Linked DNA regions of Homo sapiens: all the other regions are linked to region 3. Evidence: promoter capture Hi-C in 16 types of primary human blood cells and fetal thymus (Javierre and others, 2016). All regions are on one chromosome and are shown on one strand. The core of a region is centred on a gene start or on the middle of the fragment in contact, and the rest is flanking DNA. Distances in the headings are between cores, read along the strand shown. Region 1 overlaps LINC01478 (long intergenic non-protein coding RNA 1478). Region 2 overlaps SETBP1 (SET binding protein 1). Region 3 holds the start of SETBP1-DT (SETBP1 divergent transcript).

The links. Contacts are between HindIII fragments. The CHiCAGO score rates a contact against its expected background, and 5 or more counts as called.
Region 1: a contact is called between a fragment that was not itself captured here and the fragment with the promoter of SETBP1-DT in region 3, in 1 of 17 cell types (M2 macrophages). The highest score is 6.5, in M2 macrophages.
Region 2: a contact is called between a fragment that was not itself captured here and the fragment with the promoter of SETBP1-DT in region 3, in 4 of 17 cell types (M2 macrophages, M0 macrophages, M1 macrophages and 1 more). The highest score is 7.9, in M2 macrophages.

What each region holds. Positions count from the first base shown.
Region 1 is chr18:44,507,608-44,510,748 of GRCh38, forward strand. All of the region lies in intron 2 of LINC01478 (long intergenic non-protein coding RNA 1478), which reads right to left. Among named protein-coding and RNA genes, the nearest start is that of LINC01478, 23 kb to the right of the region's middle. The HindIII fragment of the contact is 1,317 bases long and covers 775-2,091 here.
Region 2 is chr18:44,889,531-44,892,872 of GRCh38, forward strand. The region is part of intron 3 of SETBP1 (SET binding protein 1); the gene reads left to right. Among named protein-coding and RNA genes, the nearest start is that of MIR4319, 79 kb to the right of the region's middle. The HindIII fragment of the contact is 4,115 bases long and covers 1-3,342 here.
Region 3 is chr18:44,677,789-44,681,176 of GRCh38, forward strand. SETBP1-DT (SETBP1 divergent transcript) reads right to left here and starts at 2,084. Exons shown (of 2, transcript NR_187430.2): 1 at 1,828-2,084; 2 at 1-1,101. SETBP1 (SET binding protein 1) reads left to right here and starts at 3,100. Exons shown (of 6, transcript NM_015559.3): 1 at 3,100-3,233. RefSeq lists silencers at 1,225-1,864, 2,535-2,784, 2,925-2,974. The HindIII fragment of the contact is 7,071 bases long and covers 1-2,899 here.

The DNA.
Region 1 (3,141 bases), core at 183-2,682, 170 kb before region 3:
TCATATCACAATTCACCAGTGGGTTACTACAGAGGTTGTCTGATATGATATCTCAGGAAATAGTGATGTAATACTGAGTTTCTATGACTCCCTTTTATTAATGACTGACTTCTCATCTCATGGTTTGTATATTGAGCATCATGGGTATTGTTAACTGTCCCTGGAACCTGATCTTCACACGGAGTCAGAATATGTGCTCTCTGAGAAGGTTAATCACACAAACGCTCTTTGACTTCTTTCTCATGAATGCCACATCCTCCTCAGAACCAAGCCCACGACTGACTGACAAGCCCAATGGAGAAAGAGCAGAAAACAGGAAAACATGTATTACACATTGCCCTGCATTCATCAGACTGCCCTTCAGAAAGGGGAAATAACAAAGAGTGAATGGTGGGAAGTCATTTTATCTGCTAGAAAAATATGCCCTGTTCCCTACTCAAAAAACAAGTGGTTGTGAAGCAACCGCATTATTTAAAGCTACAAGGCAAACAGGAAGAGGCAAACCAAACAGGCAGACCCTGAGAACTTCCCGCAAGTGCTCCCCTCAGCTGGGCTGGTTTGCAGTCTGATGGGCATGCTGACAGGCTCCAGTGGTTGCTGTGAACCCAGAGCATTCTTGACGAGAAAGGAAAGAGGAAAAGAAAGTGCCAGTTCCTCTTTAGCAAGCTATTTGGAAAACATTTGCTAATTCAAAGGAATAATAATGATTTCTAGAACCAACAACCATTAGTGTAAGCATTAACATCTGAGAAAGAAACCCAATGCTAAAATGCAAGCTTGAAGAGTAAGGAATTGCCCAAGAATAGGAGGTAGAAGAAAGTTGTCTACAAAACCCAGAAGAAAGGTGGTGCTTAAAATTAATTGACAACACAAGTGACTATACTGGCCAAAGAATGATCATTGGAACTTTAAAAGTTTACAGGTTGGGCTCAATGAGTCCCCAGTTTTGAAATATTTGATATGAGCGGACAGATATTCCAGGAACTGTGTGGGATGACACTCTTGGCCTCAGCTCCCCATTTTAGCCACATTTGAAATACCTAGAACTATATCTCAAGATAGCCTCTGAGCTAAGTTGTTATTTTGTTGCTTCACAACTCAACCTCAGTTCTGAGAACAGAAGTAGATAAATGTTGTGGCCACAAAGCAATTCAGGTATTATTCTTAATCCTTACCATGGTCTAAGAGTTAAGCGTCAATGTCATCATCTTACAAACGAGGGTACTGACACTTGGATAATTGTCCCACCATCAGAGAGTCAGTTACAGCGAAGTCCATCTGATGATATACCCCCTCTTTCTTCTGTACCATGGGATAAAACACATTTAGGGGACAGTAGAGAGATGATGCCCCTAAATCATCATTTCTCATGGCAAAGAAACAGAATTTTCTTTGGGCCAGAGTGAGCAGTCACAGGGGACAAGTCCTACCCTTGGACATAATGAGAAGTTTGAGTCTGCAGCACTCACAGATCCTAGAGATTCACCAAGAGGTGGGAGCCAAAGACCCTTGCTTTCCAGAGATGGATTACATAGAAAAATGTGCCACTTGGCTGACAGTGATATTAGTGTATGTTTTCCCATTTCTCTCACTCCTCTGACAAGATGTAGTGTCACTGAGAACCAAATTAACACACCGGGAGGCTTTGTCATTAAAGAAATACAAGTTCGCTTTGATTATTGCTGGCAAGAGAGCAGAGTGTGTGGTGCAAACAGCAGTCCTATTCTCAGAACTAATATTCTTGCAGACAGCACAGCTCTGTCTCAGTGTATCTTGAATTGGAAGATGGGGTGTAATTTTTCAAATCTAGAGGGACAAAATGATTTCCAAGCTAGGTACTTAAAGGTATAGGCAGCCATAGATCGCAATGAACACAGCTGTCAATGTTGCCATAATCATAAAAAAAGGGAGAGACAGAAAAAAACGTGAGCAAGGAGGGAGAAAATCACAAGAAGTGTTTCTAGCTATGTATGTATGAACTGAATATGCTATTTGTAAGATTAAGCTAGAAAGACACTTAAGTAGAGGGTAAAAATAAAATGTACTTATATGAAAGAAGTTATCAAATATAATCAGGCAATTTACTGGAAAAGCTTTAAGAGTCTTAATTTCATTGTTGTAAATGTTGTTGTTTGCCTTTGCATTCAAATTAAGGTGTTACCATTTTCGTGTTTTTTTTTTAATTTACTTATATTTGCTGTTTGCTGTTTTGCTGTTTGACTGGAATCTGTTGATTATGGAGAAACTGGTCCTAGACCGGGAATCAAATACCCAGCGTGTTTATTTTCCTCATTCATTACCGTTTAATAGATTATTCTTTGGAGCCTCAGTTTTATCACCTGAAATTTGGAAGAATAATGTCTGTATTGACAACTCTACAGAAGATTGTGTATATCAAATGAGAGAATTAATCAGAGAGCACACTGGACGTGGATTGCCTGGTCTTCCCAAGGCTGGTAGTGTCTCAATATGCACCACACTATTGAAATCACATTGATACCTGGAGAAAAAGGAAGAACAGTGTGGGATAAAGCGGAAATGTAAAAGGGCTGTCCATTCCCTCAGAAATGGATGGTATGTTTTGTTTTGCCACCTGAAATAGCAAAATCATTGAACTCTTCTGAAACCTAATTCACTGCTTACATCCCAAGACTGGAGGACACATCAGCTGTGCCTACATCACATAAAATAAAGATAAGCAGTTCACATAATTGTCTCAATTTATTGTCCTACAAATCAGTGTGATATTTAGTCTTTAAGGAAATGGTAATTACACCCATCACAAAGCAGTTTGGATCTGAAAAATAATCTGAAAGGACGTAACCAAAAGCAAAGACTCAGAGGAAGCTTTATGTCCCTAAAATAAAACACTTCAGATTCGTGTGAGAGAAAAAAAAAAAAAAAGATCTCCCACACAGACGACCAAACAATGGGAAACGATGACTATGGAACGAGTTCTTTCCAGTTCTGGAAAGCATAATGGTAATAAGAGTTAACAATTAGTCAATCCCTGTCAACTAGTAGGAGGAGGTATGTAGGGAAGAAGTCAAGCCTAAAAGAATCAGGTCCCAGGACCAGGGTCAGGCAGAATGGGCGGAGAAACATCAACCACAGCAAAATGTAACAAACAGTTGATATTAG
Region 2 (3,342 bases), core at 250-2,749, 210 kb after region 3:
GGAGCTCAGAGCGTTGCTAAGGGAGTGGTGATGGTGTCTTCTAGGTGTGAGTTGCACTGACTCTCCACCTGAAAGTGTTGACACTGAGGTCCACAATTGTTGCATTCTGCTGCAGAAGTCTTAACAGATAGTTAAATTAAACTATTGAGATGAGGCCTATTGATATACAATTAACCCAAGACAGTTTTCTTAGATATATGTGTATATATACATAGAAAGAACAGATAAATTTGAATGTTGGTAACCCTTGCCGTCTATGTGGGGAAGCCCCAGTGAACAACTTTTACAAATAATTGGCCAATAGAAATTCTTCTGCAATCCCTATTTCTCTAAAAATGTTCTCCCTTTTATTGGATAGTATATTTTCCCAACATTTAATGAAGGATTTTTAAATTCAGTCAGCATTTTTGTTTACTTGTTTACTTAATTAACAAATTAAAATTGTACGTATTTATGATGTACGACATGATGTTTTGATATATGCATCCATGGTAAGGCTGAATCAAGCTAATTAACATCTGCATCACCTAACACATTTTTCATTTTTTTGTGATGAGAATATTTAAATTCTATTTTCAATTTCCAGGTATACAATACCTTGCAAGTTTCAAGGATACCATGCCTTGTTATTAACTATAGTCACTATGTTGTAAAATAGGTTTCCTGAATTTATTCCTCCTAAGTGAAACTTTGAACTCTTTGACCAGCATCTCCTCAAACCCCTCACCCCACCCCCAAGGATGTTTTGTTTTATGTTTTCTTACTGCAGTATCGCCAAATCTTTATGTGAAAAGCAGGACAAGAACGACATTGTGAAACATAAAGGGGCTGTTAGTTCTGTATAACAGTAGATTCTTTTGTGTCCTGGGTTTTTCTCCATCTGAGAGATTGTCCTATTTCTCTTCACCTGATTAGGAAACTCTAGCAGATGGGGAAGGCTCTTCCATGGGAATCTTTTTAGAGGTCAAAGATGGAGTATTTGGAGATGTTTGTATAGATCCTATGGACACGATATATCATCAAGTTATTATTAAAACAAATATGCCCATTTCCTCTATTTAATTTTGAGGATCCCTCAAAATAGCCTCAGCCTACACCTGGAAGAAGGAAAATAAGAAGGTGACCTGTGGACTATAATTTTTTCACCTAGTCTTACACTTGAGAGTGCTTTGTTGCTTAAAAAGTAATTTCCTAATGATTTTTGCATTTTATTTTTGAATAAAACCTGCAACCTCATGAAGGCAGTTACTGTCATTCAAGTTTTTTAACTCTAAGGAACTGAGGATGGAGAGATTAAATGAATTGCCCAAGCTCACAGTGTTAGTAAGTGACCAAACTGGATTGGAATTTACATGGATCTTCTGATTCCAAGTCTAGGGTTCTTGGCAAACACTAAATGCTAAAACATTTGACAAGGAAGGGGTATTAGTCTGTTTCCATTCTACTGATAAAGACATACTGAAGACTGGGCAATATACAAAAGAAAGAAAGTTTTAATGGATTTACAGTTCCACGTGGCTGAGGAGGCCTCACAATTATGGCAGAAGGAGCAAGTCACATCTTACATGGATAGCAGCAGATAAAGAGAGATAGCTTGTGCAGAGAAACTCTCCCTAATAGAACCATCAGATCTTGTAAGACTTATTACTATCACAACACCAGCATGAGAAAGGCCTGCCTCCATGATTCAATTACCTCCCACCAGGTCCCTCCCACAACACGTGAGAATTCAAAATGAGATTTGGGTGGGGACACAGCCAAACCATATCAGAGGGGCACATCAATACAAAATGAAATGAAACAGAAGCACTCATATATTTGATCATCTAGGTTTGATCTACATTTTATTATACACATTCAGTCAGCAAACATTATTAAGTACCTATTGCTTGTAAGGCACTGCAGTGCTTAGATTTTACCTCTGAATATAGGACAGAGGTGGATTATATTGGGCCTCATTATAAGCCAACCTTGGCATGAGTGAAAGTCTTATAATGGGGCTTTGCACCAGCCACAGCTTCTAAAGTCATCATGGGTGAGTCTGTTCCACAAAAGTGAGCCAAGACTACTGTAACTATGCTGTTAACTCAGGCTGCAAATGTTCTATTCCTGAAAAAAAAATGTATTTGAGGCCTGCATGATCTCAACTGGCTGTAAATACCTTTCAGATTTCCTGGGTTATTGCTTAGTCTTCTACTGTTCCTTTCCGTCTTTATCTGACCAATTCAGAGTCCTGCTTCACAAATGCCAAACCATTTTAGTTTCTGTATAATGGAGGCATTTTTTTCCTCTTTAGGTCACATGTCTTTCACAGAGATTTTTGTCATAGATGTCTTGAAATAGGAACTGTAAAAGACATTATTTTTGAACGTTTGAACATTGCTTTTTATTTTCTCAAAGGAGTTTGCACATGATCAACAGATATATTCATCAAACCCACCTACGAGATGAGAAACCCAGACTCAAAAGTTGAGGGGAGGAGAAGTGCTCTACTTTGAGAAGAAACAACAGAAATTAAGCTCAAATGTCTTATAAAATGAATCCTGAATAATCCTTTTACATTCAAACATTTTGACAGTTTTTGGGCATGAGAGGAGGAGTGAGGAGTTTATTTGGAGCCTAAATTATCTCCAAATTGTTTGTTTGCTATTAAAGGGCTGAAAGAGAAGTAAGCAAAACAAAAATAAAATTCCACTGGCTCTCCACTATGGATGAGAAGTTGCACAAAGGCCTAGCTGTTTCGTTGGTGGAGAGCTACATGGCTGCCCAAGTTTTGCAATAGAACTTAGAGAATGGCCTTATATGGGAATTAAGGATGGGAAGCAAAATGTGTTTTTGAGGACTTAAACAGACACTCCAGGTGGTGCAGACAGGTGCAGACAGCATTGACATAATGTCACCTGCATATGTACATGGCTTAGGCCTTTTAAAGCCCATTTACCTGTGCTATTGTGTTGAATTTTAGCTCTAAAATAGGTTGTGATTTGATCTTGTTACCAATTCAAAAAATCAGTTAGGCATACCTAGTAGGTCATCTTGTCTCTGCTTGAAAGTTTCCAGTGATGGAGAGCTTTCTGTTGGCCAGGTAATGTATTTTGTGGCTGGACAGCTTTTATTGTTTGGAAATTATTCTGTGTATAGAGTTCAAATATATTTTATTGAAACTTCTATCTACTGGTTTTATTGTAACTGCTACATAATAATTTTTCTTCCTCATCCACACAATAACTTCAACCATTTGAAAGCAGTTATCAGAACTCCCTTAAATCTTCACATCTCCAAGCTAAACACCTCTCATTTTCTCAACCAAGCCTTTATTAATATGGTCTTCATCTCCTCCTA
Region 3 (3,388 bases), core at 834-3,333:
AGGAAGGAAGACTCTGTAAATACGCCTAGGTTATAGAAGGGAAACGACTAGGGCAATAGGCTTTAGTTCTGGTTTGGATGACATCAGACAGCCATATGCTTGTGGACAAACCCTTCTGATTTCTGGGGCTACTTTCTCCACTGGAAAAGCGCGGGGAATAGGCCACATGCTATCTTAGTTCTCTGTGGACTTTGGTGTAGGATTTCAGAAATCTGGGTGTACAAGCAAATGAGAAAGGTCATTTGATTACAGAGAATAGTTGTTTTGATATTGTATTCTGTGCCTTGATCTCTACTTCTATCATCAGCTCATATGCTCTGCTATTTTTTTTCCTAACTAAGCATTATTTTCTCAGCAATAACAATGACGCGGTAAAAAAGCATAGTAGAAGACCTATCGAAAATTGCTCCACGGGAGGTCCTGCAGTGACAGAAGAAAAGTTTGTAGCCAGTCAGAACATTCCTCTGAAAAAAAGAGGACAGAGCACTTGGATCAGTAAAAGGGTGAACTATCCGTTCTGAGTCAGACTGAATCTGCATCCAGACAGGAATCGGGATGGGATTGGGGCTGGAAGGGGTTCACCCTTCAATCCCCAGTCTCTTTCACTCCACTTCACTGCAGCGTTCCTATGAAAAACTTGACGAAGAAGTTCTGTGAAGGAACTCAAACCAGCAGCCAATGCAGGGAGGCAGCCACTGATGGCCTCAGTGAGGGAATGCCCCCGACGTACCTCCAAATCATTCCTCAGTCCAAATAGCCTAAAACTCTCATGAAGAACGTGATAGGAGTCCTCTCAGAATCCGAGTCCTCGGTCAACTTTACCCCAAGTTCTTTGAGCGGAACCATTTGCAGACCTTCCCGAATCCGTATCTATCCTATATTGTTTTACAATGTAGACATGTCTCTGAAGGGTTCCATTCGTGTTTCCCTGAAAAGACCCCCTTTGTAGGCCAAATACAAAAACTCAGAGATTACAAATGCCACCATATTTTGTAAGAACTGAAGACATTCCACTTTGTTCTTCCCACCCTGAAAACAACTGCATGCCAGTCTGCGTTTGTCATCTCTCCGTGTCCTTCCCTTCATCAAGTGTCCAATTCTCTTGAATAACGAGAAAATGCACATGAGATCTGAATGCATACAAGTCGCTTAACAACAACAATAAAATAATAATAATAATTTAAAAAAACCCTGAAAGTGAAATATAATTACCAGGTTAAAAAAAAAATGCGCCCAGTTTCGAGAGCCTATCACAGCTCACGTCTGGGCGCGCAGTACCCCCCCGACACTGCTCCTGTTGTGTCAGATAGTGGCAGTGTTGAGCCCAGGAATACGCGCGGAGCCCGCGGCGATCCCCGCGGCCGCTCAGTCTTCGCGGCGGACTCCGGCGCGCAGGAGCCACTGGGCCGCAAGGGCGCCGGGGAGCGGGAGGGGCGCTGGGGGCGGCAAGGGGTCCCAGATCCCAGGCCACGAACTGTTTTCCTTTTCCCCGGGCAAGAGCCCCGCTCCCTTCAACTGACAGAAATTCACTGGGGCAGGGGGGCGAGTGGGGAGAGAGGTCGCTCAGGGCTCGCTACTGGCTGCGCCTCCCCCGGCTCTGGTCTGGGAAGCGGCTCTGGGCCCTCCGGGCGAGCAGCTTGGGCGCCGGCGCCCCCTGCGAGGAAGATCGCGGGGTGACGGTCGGTACCCGTTCGGCTGGGCCGCGCTGCCGCTCCGATCCACCTCCCTTCCGCGCCCGCGCCCTCCCCCTTCCTTTCACTAGGAGTCCGGGATTCGGAGAGGGCGCGGGAGGCAGGCACACGGGCCCGACCCCACTCCAGCGCTCACCGGGGACGCGGGCGGGCGGCGACGGGACGCGGCGGGGGCGCGGGGCGGGCGCGGCCATGGAGCAGCAGCGGCGGCGGCGGCGGCGGCGGCGGCAACACTAGCGACCGCGGGCGGACGAGCGGGCGGGCAGGGCCGCCGGGCTCAGCGGACCGAACTGCACAGCTCAGCAAAAGCGCCCTCGCCCTCCGCGCGCCGCCTCCTGCGAGCCCAAACCCACCAACATTTTTTAACGCTCCAACCCATCCTTTGAAGAAAAGCAAAAAAAAAAAAAAAAAAAAAAAAAAAAGCAAAAAAAGAAAAAGCATTGATCGGAGAGACGGGGATATATATATATATATATATATATATATATATATAAAATTTTTTTTGGCTCCTGCTAAAATTAGCAGGGCTCGCCGCGCGCCTGTGTGCCAGTGTGTGCGAGTGTGTGTGCGTGCGGGCGTGTGTGTGTGAATGTGATTACTCCAGGACTCCTCGGGCTCCGGAGACGCCATTTTCCCCCTTGATATCTCTCTCCATAAATCGGTGGCGCGGCGGAGGCGGCAGAGTCGGGCGGGAAGCGCGGGGCCGGCCGGGGCGCCCGCCGCTCGCCGCCGCCTCCGCGCGCCCGGGGGCCCCGGCGCCCCCCGAGCTAGGGCGGCCAGCTCGCGGCTCGCCGTTTGACAGATGCTCATCGCCATGGAGTTGCCGCAGCAGCACCTTTGGGGGCTCGGGCGAGCGACGGGAGCCGGGATCTGAGCGAGCGCCGGGGCCAGCGGAGCCGGAGCCGCCGGGACATGGGTGAGCACGCGCGGCGACCTTGGCCCGGGAGCCCGGGCGCCCAGCCTCCCTCCGCGCCGCGGGCCCCCGCACTCCCGGAACCGGGGGCGACGTGTGTGCCCTGCATGCAAAAGTTCACGTCGCCTTGCTGGGTCTTTGACTTTGCACCCGGCGGGAAGGGGGAGACCGGGCCGAGGGGGCGGGATGCCGGTCCGGGCGAGGTTGCAGGAGATGGGCGCGATTCCGGCGGGCCGGCGGGTGGGCGGCGATGCTGGCTCAATTGGAGTGGCTCGTTGGTGGCGGCGATGGTGGAAGCTTTGGGCTGGAGGGCTGGGAGCTTATTGAGTTTCGCCTAATCTGATCTACCCCCCCTCCGCCCCCCGCCTTTTGCACCCTCCCTCGGTCCTGCAGCCGGCTGGCGGGGCTGGCGGGTTTGGCGTTGGTGGAGTGGACTCGGGAGGGGGAGGGGGTAAGGAAAGGGGTGGGAAGGCAGGATTTTTTTTTTCTCTCTTTGTAACTTGCAGGTTAAGTGGAGCTAGAGAGCTACATTGTAACCTAGTTGGATTTTTTTGGGGGGGGAATGTATCAGAATCTAACGTGTCGTTAATAGAAAGAAGAACAGGCAAGAAGTGGTCCAGCCGGCGAAGGTTGGTGTGTGCTTGTGTTGTGCCTGTGTGTTAGTCTTTTTCTTAAAAATCTTAATCAATGGATTTGAGTCTCTTTCTTGTGCTCTCTGGTTTTGGGACTCTGAAAAGATAGGAATTCCCTTAAAAGCAGACGAATGCCTTTTTGAAAGCACGCA